Regions from separate parts of the Homo sapiens genome. Here region 1 is linked to region 2. Evidence: promoter capture Hi-C in 16 types of primary human blood cells and fetal thymus (Javierre and others, 2016). All regions are on one chromosome and are shown on one strand. The core of a region is centred on a gene start or on the middle of the fragment in contact, and the rest is flanking DNA. Distances in the headings are between cores, read along the strand shown. Region 1 overlaps IFFO1 (intermediate filament family orphan 1). Region 2 holds the start of CHD4 (chromodomain helicase DNA binding protein 4).

The links. The method cuts DNA at HindIII sites, captures the fragments that hold promoters and counts their contacts. A CHiCAGO score of 5 or more calls a contact.
Region 1: a contact is called between a fragment that was not itself captured here and the fragment with the promoter of CHD4 in region 2, in 3 of 17 cell types (activated CD4 T cells, naive CD4 T cells and total CD8 T cells). The highest score is 6.6, in activated CD4 T cells.

Annotation. Positions count from the first base shown.
Region 1 is chr12:6,547,180-6,552,980 of GRCh38, reverse strand. It overlaps IFFO1 (intermediate filament family orphan 1), which reads left to right. Exons shown (of 10, transcript NM_001193457.2): 2 at 1,980-2,040; 3 at 2,191-2,286; 4 at 3,085-3,225; 5 at 3,497-3,505; 6 at 4,132-4,313; 7 at 4,436-4,556; 8 at 4,821-4,916. Among named protein-coding and RNA genes, the nearest start is that of IFFO1, 6.0 kb to the left of the region's middle. RefSeq lists enhancers at 595-1,112, 1,385-1,884, 2,564-3,064, 3,065-3,565. The HindIII fragment of the contact is 251 bases long and covers 3,529-3,779 here.
Region 2 is chr12:6,604,072-6,610,024 of GRCh38, reverse strand. It overlaps CHD4 (chromodomain helicase DNA binding protein 4), which reads left to right and starts at 2,646. Exons shown (of 40, transcript NM_001273.5): 1 at 2,646-2,725; 2 at 3,574-3,751. The coding sequence starts at 3,652. LOC124902867 (a long non-coding RNA gene) reads right to left here and starts at 4,139. Exons shown (of 2, transcript XR_007063193.1): 1 at 4,030-4,139; 2 at 715-910. RefSeq lists enhancers at 2,026-2,175, 3,916-4,075 and silencers at 2,766-2,865, 3,276-3,335, 3,516-3,565. The HindIII fragment of the contact is 30,599 bases long and covers 1-5,953 here.

The DNA.
Region 1 (5,801 bases), core at 2,405-4,904, 58 kb after region 2:
GCTTTCTCTCTTCAACCCAGGGATACAGTTTTTTGGAAGAGAGATATTTGGTCCATGCAGAACACATGGATATCGCTCTCAAATTCTGCCCATGTTAAGGGAACCTTATAAGTGAGACCAGATGGAAATGGAGGTGAAAATGAACCTGTCTGTGTGAAGTCTGGCCAAAGAACAAATAGAACTGTAGTGGGCTTCCAGATGATTCATTTGTAGATTTTTTTTACCCTGTAAGATTTCCTTAGGCTTAACCTTTAGCTATAACTGCCTTACTTAAGTTTCTTCCAGGCTCTGTTGAGCTCACTGTCAGATAGCCCCTCCTGCCCTCTTTCACACATCTTGTCCAGGGTTAGCGTGCCCTTGACAGGCTTACTGTCTCCCTCCAGGGACTCGTGGGCTCCCGGCGCATGAGGGCACCACAGTTCATGCCTTCACATCATAGATGAAGAAACCAAGACCCAGAAAAGATAAGGGTCTTAGCTAAGAAAACATAATCTGATGCGACTGGTTCCCTTAGTGGCCTGACTGTATGCATGAGAATGCCAGGGAGGAGGGGAGAAGCACCTACGGGACACACAGGGAAGGGGGCTGGGAGCCAGGAAGGCTGGGAGCTGGGCTGTGTGGGGAGCCAGCAGGGTGGTGGCTGGGCTGGCTGCCTCCTCCTGCTCTGCCCAGCAGGGAGGGGCAGTCGAGGTGATGTGGAGGAGTTATTATTAGGAATACTGCAGTGCGGCTGTGAATGAGGAGATGGGACCCAGAGGCTGACACAGGAAGGAAGATGGAGGGAAGGGGAAGAAAGGGCTTCACCCAAGGCTTCAGAAGCTGCCCACTCAGATTTTAATTTTCTTGCTGTCTTCTTGGCCCCTTCCTAACCACCTTTCTTGTGTTGAAGTTTCTCTCTTGGTGCAGTTCCCCTCCCTTCTCGGGTTGACAGAAGTGATGAGCTCACAGGAACAGGATTTGAGATGTGCTGCTACGCCAGCTAGACTGCAGGGCCCTGGAATGCCGGGCGGGTCCTAAGCAGCACGTTGCCCTGGCTTCCATCTCTGTGATGGAATAGAATATGCACTGCCTGCCATGGCTGATGAGACATGACAAAGCTGGCTCTGGGAAGCATGCCCTACCTAGGACCCTGCCCTGTGGCCCAGGGTGTCGTCCGGCCCACTTGCAGTCTTAATCTCTGAATTCTGGGCCCTGGAACAGGCTGTGTCTAGTTCTCATTTGCCGTACTCACCGGGCCCCTTTACATACTCTACTTTCTCTTTCCCTCTGGGTTTGAGTGCTAGTAACCCCAGGCTCGTGTGTCCACTGCTGTCATGCTGCTGTGGGACTTCCGGCCTCTGAGCCAGTCTGGTCACCTCTCTGTGACTCCCTTAGAGGAGGCTCTGGGTGGGTAGTTTCTGGAGCTAGTGGGGAAGGACTTTGAGTGTCTCCTACCAGGCTCTTGACCCACTCTGTTGATACACTATGTGTCCTGCAGATGCTTTTACAGGGTTAAATGATACCACAAGAGGCAGGGCAGCGGGCTCGACGAGCTCTGTTCTGGTGCGGGCAGGAGGCGGGAGCCCGGATCTGTGCGACTGAAGGTGGGAGACTGGGCCGGGTGGACCTGGTGGTCTGGTGTGGGCAGGAGGTGGGCAATGAGGCCAGCCGGACAGCTGGCTGAGCTGGGGCCTGAGCAGGGATGGGCATCACGGAGGACCGGAGCCTCAGCACTTGCCCAAACAGAGCTCCTGGTGCACAGCCCGGAGGTTCCGGGAAGGCAGCTGGCGAGCTCGACGCCCATCAGGAAGCACAGAGCCGCGTGACAGCTGCAGTTGGTCACCAGCTGGCTGGCCAGGCATTCCTGTGCCCTGCTCCTCCCCATCCAGGGAACCAGAACTGGGGTCTGAGGCCTGAGCCAGAGAGGTGGGGACAGGGAGCCATGGGGGCAGGGAAGGACTCTGTACCTAAGCTCTCTCCGCCCTTCCCATGTCTGTCAGGTGGGAAGAGGAGTACACGGTGCGGATCCAGCTGCAAGACCGTGTAAATGAGCTCCAGGAGGTGAGGGTGGCGCCCCACTTGCTGCTGGTGCTTCCCTGGGTACCCCTGTCTGCCCATGACCCTGCTGCCGTCTCCCTGTCCCTCCTTGGCATCTTTATCTTCCTCCCACCTCGGCAGTGCCACCAACATCAGGGTTTCTCCCAACTGCAGGAAGCCCAGGAGGCTGATGCCTGCCAGGAGGAGCTGGCACTGAAGGTGGAACAGTTGAAGGCTGAGCTGGTGGTCTTCAAGGGGCTCATGAGTAACGTGAGTGCAGCCCCAGGCTTCCCGAGGGTCGAAGTGAGGCTTCTGAGGCCAGAAGAGTAGGCCCTTCTAGTGTTGGCCTGTTGGCCTCCCGTCCACGGCTCCTCCCCTTCTCTTTGCTTTCCTTCCCTTTTTCCCCTAGCCACCCCTAACTCCAGAGAAAGACAAGCAACAAAAGTCTCGGTGTTGCGTCACAGAGGTGGCGCAGCTTCTGAGGGCCTGGGGTTGCAGAGCAGTTAGTGAGCAGCTTCTGGGGTGGAGGCTCTGCAGCTGGCGCCGGGGCGCTGGGCCGATTCCTCAGCCTCTGAGGCCTCACCTTTGGCGTGGGGAAATAAACGCGTGCGCTCTGCAGGAGTATTGTGAGGGTGGTCATGTACTCGGGACAGTGCCCAGCATGCAGTGTTAGCTGGAAGAGTGTTAGCTGTTGCGATTATTATAGTCCTTTCTCCACTCTTATAATTCCCAGGAGTCTCTTTCTCTCTGGGAATGTAAGTTCTAGGAGGATGAGGACCGCTAGTCGTTCCAGTGAGCCCCCTGCATGTCCCAGGCACTGGCCATGCCCTCCAGGGCTTCCGTTTGGCCAGGGAGCAGTGGCCCGAGCCGCCCCATGCCCAGCATATTCACACAGTGCTGTGGGGAGGCCACCGCTACCCAGGAAGAGGGGTGCAGTCAGCTCAGGGAGACTCCACAGAAGAGGCACCGGTGCAATGTGGTGGGAAGGATGAGGACCTTGCCAGGCCTAATTCGTCCTTGTCTGGAGAACTGGGCGCCTCCTCACTGTTCCCTGGGCTCCCTGGACAGAACCTGTCGGAGCTGGACACCAAGATCCAGGAGAAAGCCATGAAGGTGGATATGGACATCTGCCGCCGCATCGACATCACCGCCAAGCTCTGCGATGTGGCTCAGCAGCGCAACTGCGAGGACATGATCCAGATGTTCCAGGTGAGGACGGAGCTGCCCTCTGCTCTCAGGGGTGGGTGGGGCAGGTGGATGCTTCCGTGGCGGCTGGCCTGGAACGCAGGCCCTGCCTCCTGCTTGGGGAGCCTTACCTGGCAACTGGGGCCCTCACGGGGCTAGACTGGGGGGTAAGGAGCAGCATCAGGAGGGGCATCGTGGAAGCTGTCTCTAACGCCGTCTCTCCCTTCCCCCTCTCTCTCCTCTGTCTGCTTCCTCTCCTCTCTTCCTCTCATCTTCTCTCTTGCTTCCTCCACAGAAGAAGCTGGTTAGTTTGATCTCACGCAAGCTTATTAATGTCCCAGTCCCAGTTTCTAAGCTGCCTAGGCCTCCTGGCCCTCAGTTTGGGCCCGCTGGGCTCTTGAGCACGGATTTTTTTCTGCCCTTTCCCTTTTCCTTGCTCTTCCCCCTTTTTCTCTCTATCTCTTGTTCTCTTGACTGCATTTCTTTCTCTCCCTTCTCCCCCGGCTTTCCAGATCTGGATGTGATTCAGGTTCTCTTTTGTACACATTGCACACTCATCCTCCTTGCGTCCTAAAGCTTTTTTTTTTTTAGTTGAGTCATTTAATCAAAAAGACTTTTTTTAGAAAAAAATTTCCTCTTGAGCCATCATGCACATCTGACTGCAGCCCCAGCGAGCCCTTCCTTCCTTGTCTGACTGCTCTTCTTCTCGATTTCTTCTTGTTCTGCCTTCTCGGTTTGCAGCCCTGACCCCCGCTGTGTGTCTGGCCCTTGGTGACTGTCCGTGTTTCTGTTCCTGTCATTGTAACTGTGACTTTTCTCTCTGTCTGCCCCCCCTTCCTACTGGTTCATGCTTCTCCCCCATTCCCACCCTCTCTGCCCGGCCTCCCGCTCCCGCCCTTTCTCCTCATGCACCCGGCCTCGTCTCTGTAGTCTCTGCACTTGTCTCCCATTAAGGTCCCATCCATGGGGGGGCGGAAGCGGGAGCGCAAGGCTGCCGTCGAGGAGGACACCTCCCTGTCGGAGAGTGAGGGGCCCCGCCAGCCCGATGGGGATGAGGAGGAGAGCACAGCCCTCAGCATCAACGAGGAGATGCAGCGCATGCTCAACCAGCTGTGAGTCCGCAGGCCGTGCTCCCGCAGCACCGACGCCACAGCAGCCCAGGAGGCCGGAGCTCCCCAGTCCCCCGCCAGGACGAGGCCCCGCCCGCCCTGACACCCGGGTTCCCTGTCTCTAGGAGGGAGTATGATTTTGAGGACGACTGTGACAGCCTGACTTGGGAGGAGACTGAGGAGACCCTGCTGCTTTGGGAGGATTTCTCAGGCTATGCCATGGCAGCTGCAGAGGCCCAGGGAGAGGTAACCTCTGCTCCCGGCCTCAGGGCCCTCTGGCTCTGCCTCTCCAGCCTGAAGCCCACTCCCCCGCTCCTCTCCTTGCTCTGTCCCCCCATGTGGCTGTCATCCTCTACCTGCGTCTCCCCTCTTCCTTTATCCTTTTGCTTTTCTTTCTCCAGTTTCTTTAACCAGACTTCCTCTCTCTCTCTCTCCCTGACTTGGCCCTTTGGAATGCGTCCCATCCCATCCCTCCTTGGCTGGCCTCCCCCGCTTCCCTTTCTACTCCAGCAGCAGGAAGATAGCCTGGAGAAGGTGATTAAAGATACGGAGTCCCTGTTCAAAACCCGGGAGAAGGAGTATCAGGAGACCATTGACCAGATAGAGGTAAGGGCAGGAGCGGAAGCCAGGGGCGTGGTGTCCCAGAGGGTTTTGAGTGGGGCTGCAGGCGCAGTGGCCTCATCCCTGCTGCAGGACCCTAGAGACCAAGGTCTTGGGAGGAGGAGTGATCTCTCAGCTATAGTCCTCCTGGTGGGCTCTGAAGACCTCAGGCTCTGGAAACAGACAGATATCGGTTCAAATCTCAGCTCTGTTACTTACAACCACCCTGAACTTGTAATAAGTTACTTGTTCCCTCTGAGCCCCTCCTTTCCTTTCCTTTCCTTTCCTTTCTTTCCTTCCTTCCTTCCTTCCTTTCTCTCTCTCTCTCTCTTCCCCTCCCCCTCTATCCCTCCCTCCCTCTCTCCCTTGTCTTTCTGTCCTTTCTTTTTTGAGACAAGGTCTCACTCTGTTTCACTCTGTTGCCTAGGCTGGAGTGATCCTCCCACCCCAGCCTTCTGAGTAGCTGGGCCCACAGGTGTGTGCCACCATACCCAGCTAATTTTTATTTGTATTTTTTTGTAGAGATGGTGTCTCCCTGTGTTTCCCAGGCAGGTCTTAAACTCTTGGGCTTAAGTGATCCTCCTGCCTCGGCCTCCCAAAGTACTAGAATTAGAGACATGAGCCATGTGTCCAGCCCTACACCTGTTTCTTTTTCTTTCTTTCTTTCTTTCTTTCTTTTTTTGAGACAGGGTCTTGCTCTGTCACTCCAGGCCCACTGCAGCCGTGATCTTCTGGATCCAAGCAATCCTCCTACCTCAGCCTCCCAAGTAGCTGGGACCACAGGCGTGTGCTACCACGCCCGGCTAATTTTTTGATTTTTTTTACAGAGAACAGGGTGTCACTATGTTTTCCAGGCTGCCCTCAAACTTCTGGATTCAAGCAGTCCTCCTA
Region 2 (5,953 bases), core at 1,397-3,896:
TTTTTTTTCTGAGGCAGAGTCTTGCTCTGTTGCCCAGGCTGTAGTGCAGTGGTGCAATCTCAGCTCCCTGCAACCTCTACCTCCTGGGTTCAAGCAATTCTCCTGCCTCAGCCCTTGAGTAGCTAGGATTACAGGCACGTGCCACCATGTCAGGCTAATTTTTGTATGTTTAGTAGAGACGGGGTTTCACCATTTTGGCCAGGCTGGTCTTGAACTCCTGACCTTGTGATCCACCTGCCTTGGCCTCCCAAAGTGCTGGGATTACAGGCATGAGCCACCATGCCCCGCTGGAATATTGACTTCTATACAGGCAGGGGAAGATGGGGAACATTATACAACTAAAGATTTTTTTTTTTTTGAGGTGGAGAATGTGGCCCCAACAAGATGAGGATGGAGGCCATTGGAGATACTATGAGACTTCAGGATATAAAATGGGAAAGTGCCTGAAAAATATGGGACATTGAGGATAAGCAGGATTTGGTGTTCAAGAATGAGGGAAACAATGCTGGTATATTGTGGAGTCTCTTAAGAAGGAAGGACATGAACATATTATAGGATTTCAGTATTAGGAATGCTGGATGGATGAACATTGCTTTCCAAGAAAAATCCCCTAGTAAGTAGGGAACAGATAGGAGATCATGTTGACTATGGTCTATACCCATAAATCCTTTAAGTATCATCTTCCAGCCTCTAGAAGGACCACGATAAATCTTATTGGGATATGTTCTCTCTTGGAACCAGTGGGATTTTATTTTCTGTAACAGGAAATTGGGAAACAGTGCTCAGCAGTTCTCCCTTGGCACCATTCTGTCGTGTATCATAGTTTGCTTGGTTGCTTATGCTTTTTGAAGGGAGGCCCCCTGGTCTTCCTTGATTCTCCATGGTGCGGAGCTCGGCCTTGCTAGGTACTCTGTCAACACAGGTTGAATGAACATGAGTAGTGGTGAGTAGCGGGAGGGCAGGCCTTCACTCTTGGTGTGTATAGAGCAGGAACCTGAGTTCACATCGTGATGGGATGTCCATCCCCAGGAATGGCCTGGGGGTGTTGGTGAAAGATCCCTGACCTGGGGATGTGGTGAGGGGGAGGATTGCTAGAATGTTGAGAGATAGTCTTTGGATGGGAGTTGGTAATTATTATGGGATGCTGTAGGGTGAATTAGACTTCATGTAAATGTTTCATCTGTCAGCTTGGTATTTTGGTTGGTTGGTGTTCCTCAAAACTTAGGAGCTGGAGGTAAGCATCTGGAAAATACCTAGATTTTGGTGGGACTGGGTGGGGCCCTAGGTGGGCTCCCAGCCCCCGAGTGTCTGGAAATGATGGTATGAGGGAAGCTGGGGTCCCAGACATCAGGAGGCTTTTTGCCAGGATACTACTTTGGCCCAGAAAGGGATTAAGGTGTGTGCAAGTGGGGGCGGGGACAAGGAAGCGTGGGTAGCCTGCCTGGCCCTCCCTGCTCTGGGTGTTAGAATAGACTGACAGCGCCTGGAGATGGGGGTGGGAAGAATATGAATATTATGGGATGCCTGGCTCGAAGGGTATAGGGGTGGTAGAGTGGAGATGAAGCATTATGGGATGTGACACTGGGTTGTGTTGGGAGTATTATGGTATGTTTGGTTGACCACGGGCTCCTTGCAATTATTATGGGATGTCAGGATGTGGGTAGGAGAGTAAAATTATTATGGGATAGCTTTCCAGTGTTAGAGGAAAAGAGATTAGATGTCCATCTGTGGGGCGACAGTAGGGCTGTTGATCATTATGGGTTATCTTTTTGATAGAGGAGGGGTACTTACTATAGGCTGTGGAGCTAGAAGAGGGAAGGCTGGGGGTGATGTGAGCCTCTAGACCCTGGCCTGCAGGGACTGAGGGCAGCTCTAGGGGGTTAGTTATTATGGGATGTCAGTATAGAAAGTGGGAGACTGATTATTACGGGATGTGTGTGGGAGGAGGCCGAGTGTCCGTTGTTGTAGTATGGGGGGGGGTGAGTTTCTGACTATTATGGGATATCAAACTGGGGGTGGATGAAGGATGGTTATTATGGGATGTCTGTGGGGGATGGGGCTGAATATTATGGGATATGAGGCATAAGTGCTGCGAGGGGTGCTTATTATGGGATGGCCATGGGGAGGGAGGGGTGATGAATTATTATGGGATGTTAGCATTAGGTCCAAGAGTGAAGAAGAAGTTGGCAAAGGATGTCTATTATGGGATGTCTAAGAGGGTTAGTTGCAAAAGGTCTGCAATATTTTGAGATGTCAGCAGTCTCTGGCATATGTGTATGAAATGTGGGGGGGCAGGGTGTGTGTGTGTTGTGTGTGTGTGTGTGTGTGTGTGTGTGTGTGTGTGTGTGTGTGTTGGGGGGGGGGGTGTCCGTGTGTATTATGGGATGGCCAGGAGGTGGGCGGTTGCCCAGGTGACGCGCGCGCGCCCGCTGCGAAGGGGGCGTGGCCAGTGGTTGCCTGAGCGACGAGGGGGCGGGGGTTGCCCGGGAGACCTGGGGAGGAGGGTGGCGGTAGTGGAAGGGGGGGGTTGGAGTTGGTTGAGGTTATTATGGGCTGTCCGTGGGGGGGCGGGGCCTGTGCGGTGGGATTTCCCGGCCGGTGTTTCAGGCCCTTTAAGAGGCGACGCTGGAGCCGGAGCCATTTTCCCCCCTTCGGCCGCGGCGAGGAGGAGCCGGAGCGGGAGTGACACCGAGCCGGACCCAGCGCGACCTGCGGCGGCTCCGGGGTGAGGAGAGCGCGGGGTTCCCAAAGAGACGCCCCTCACGGCCCTACCAGCCCCGAGGGTCATCCCGTCACCCGCCCCTTCCTCAGGCGTCTCCGGACCCGCGGACCGCCCCTTGCCCAGAGGAGCCGACCCTTCCTTTCCTGGCCCTGCAGGGCGCCCGGCCTCCTCCCCAGCCCCCGCCCTAACCCTGCCGGAGTCTTGCTCCCCGCGACCCCCCGCCTCCGGCTTGGTCTCCCACAATGCCCGGCGCCCACCCCCTCGCCCTTTGATCACTTGCCCCCCGGGACACGTGGCCCGGCCCCCTTCCCGGTGGGACGCTTTCGCCCCCCGCGTCCCTGCCTCCGGCCCCCCGCAGCGCCCGAGCCTCCACGCCCCCTCGTCCCCGCAGCTCTTGAGGAGAACCTGAGTTGTCCCAGAGGACAGCCTTTGGAGAGCTGCCCTGTCTGGGGACTGGCCCCTCCCCGGGCGCAGGGAGGCGCCCCCCCACCCCCAAGTGACCTTGTGTCCCCGAGCGCCTCGCCGCCTGCGGCCTCCCCTGGCCCCCCCGCGCCGCTGCCACTCGGACCCCCTCCCCCGTCACACCCCGCTCGGTCCAGCCCCGCGTCTCCCCTCCCCGCGCTTGCACCAGCCTGCCCTCGGAGGCGTCGCTCCCTCGCTCCGTGGGGGCGCCTGCCGGGGAGCCGGCTTCCGGGCTGCCCCCGAGGAGTGTGGAACTAAGTTCAGCCTGAGCGGTTCGGGTGCCCTGCTAGGGTGGCTGGGGTGGGGGGCGGAAAGAGCGGGTGGGTGTGGGGGAGGGGGACAGTGCGCGTCACTGACTGTTCTGTGTTTCTCCCCCCTCCCCCGCACAGTGACTCGGGCCAGTGTAGAGGTCCTCAGGCCGCCGGCAGGAGCAGCTGGGCCAATTCCCTGGCCGGGAGCGGAAGGGGATGGCGTCGGGCCTGGGCTCCCCGTCCCCCTGCTCGGCGGGCAGTGAGGAGGAGGATATGGATGCACTTTTGAACAACAGCCTGCCCCCACCCCACCCAGGTAACATCTTCCCCAAGGGCCCATGGCGGGAAGGAGACATCTGGGGCTCTCCCGAGTGACTCCTCTGGTGAGGCAGGGCTGTGTTGCTCCGCTGTCTCTGTGCAGAGCCGGAGGTGGAGGGTATCCGAAGGGAGTGGTTCCCTTCTGCGGAGCTCTGGTGTGAGGGGGGTGGAAGCCATGTGCCTCCTGGGCACGGAGATGCCAGCTTGCTGCACTCTGTCTTGAGGAATGCTCTGCAGTTCCCAGTTGAGGGAGCTCTCTGGGCTGGCAGGCATTACCTGGTATGTGGGTCCTCGGAGGAATGCAGGTAGCTGGGACCCCTGGAGGCTTGTGGTGGTGGTGGTGGAGGGGGGCGTTGAGGATTCTGTTTGAAAGACCAGCCGGGCATCTGTGCTAGTAGGATCCTGTGGTTGCTGCTGTGGAAAGGAAAGAGGGAGTGCTGGTTACACTCTATCTGATTATTTTTAGCTTCTGATCGGTTACCGGTTTTCTGTGCTGTCTGAACTGTGTGAAGTTTGAATCGCGCTCCTCAGCAGGATCTGGAGTGCTTAAAGCAGCCAGGCAGATTGCTGGAATGTTTTGAGTGGGGAAGTGATGGGGGCTCGGGGAGGATGTAATAGCCTAGTGAAGAGGGGCAAAAGAAGGGAGGGCACTCCTCCTCCTGGTGAGTGGACATAGTTTTGGCTTTTTTCCTAGTGGCTTCTGTCTCTATGAGGTAGCCTGCGGTTTAGGCTGGCAGTGTGAAGTGTCTGTGTAGGTGTGCTAGGGGTTACGCTATCTGTGTTTTGGGGTGGCTTCATGAACTGGCCAAACCCGTATGGTTGTAACCACCCTGTCTGATTGGGGGAACTGTTGTCTATCCTCAAATGATGGTTGATGTCATGCCCCTAAGCAGATGTCTTTCTCTTCTGTGTCCTTTTTCAGAGCCCCTAGCTGTGTCACCTACTCATCTCCTTGACCTTCATGTTTTCTAGTTTAATTTTTTTTTCTACATGTCATTTCTTCATTCCTTCTGCTTCTAGTTTTCTTCTCATTCTGGAGCCTGCTGATCCTGTTTTTGTTTCTCATCCAGCATCATTCACTTCTGCCTTCTCTCTTCTTAGCTTCAGTGGAAGTTGAGGTGGTCTGGGAGAGATGCTTTCACATTTGGCACTTTTTAAGTTGGAATTCTTCACTTCAACCTGAGGCCATTTAGGAGAGGGGTTAGTGTTGTCATGGAGTCTGGGCTGTTGGGATGAGAAACTTGGTTTCATCCTTGTGTAGAGTAGGGGGCAGATTTCCATGCCCTTGCCCAAGGTGAGGGCGGAGTTGTGGTGCTGGTAAGGGGACCCTGTCCTTCTGAGAGGGGCATGAGAAACAGTAGTGCTGCCTAAACATTCTGGGTTCCACGTCTTGGCCTCCCATTGGCCACTTGGGCTGGGGCTGCCTTTCATGTTGACCGGGAGCTGCGCAGGAGCTGTGAACTCTGTCCTGAGCTGTAGCATGACCCACTTTTTCCACTTGCCACACCCCATTCCTGTCCCTTTCCTAAATCTTCTCTATATCTCAGTAAGTTTGCGGTTTGCCATTTCAGCATATTATTTGCCTGAGAAGTTTGGGGGGCTCCATGTGCATGGAAGGATGTCCCCTTTGCCTCCATGGGTTGTCTTTGTCTCCACTTCCAGCTTTTATGGGGGTGGTGAGATGTAGCTGATGGGGGTTGGGGGTTGACTTGGGGATTGGTGGGGAAAAGTCCTTAAGAAAATGATTCTTTCTGGTGAAATCCAGGCTGATGTTGCATTCCCAAGGGGGAATGGGAGGGGCGTTCTTGTGCCTGGTCTTATTCTGGGCTGAGAAGCAGGGAGGCTGATGGTGCTTTGTCCAGCCTAATGTCTCATTCCCTAGTATCTGTCTAGCTCAGGAAGTGGGGAGCCAGAGACATTTTAGGGCTAATTTTGGGGGTTAAGAGCTAAGAACATGTCAGGGATTGAAGGAGGGATATTATTTTCTTTTTTATTTTTGAGATGGGGTCTCACTCTGTCGCCAAGGTTGGAGTGCAGTGTGCGATCTTGGCTCACTGCAACCTCCGCCTCCCGGGCTCAAGCGATTCTCCTGCCTCAGCCTCCTGAGTAGCTGGGATTACAGGCACCCACCACCATGCCTGGCTAATTTTTGTTTTTTTAGTAGAGACAGGGTTTCACCATGTTGGCCAAGCTGGTTTCG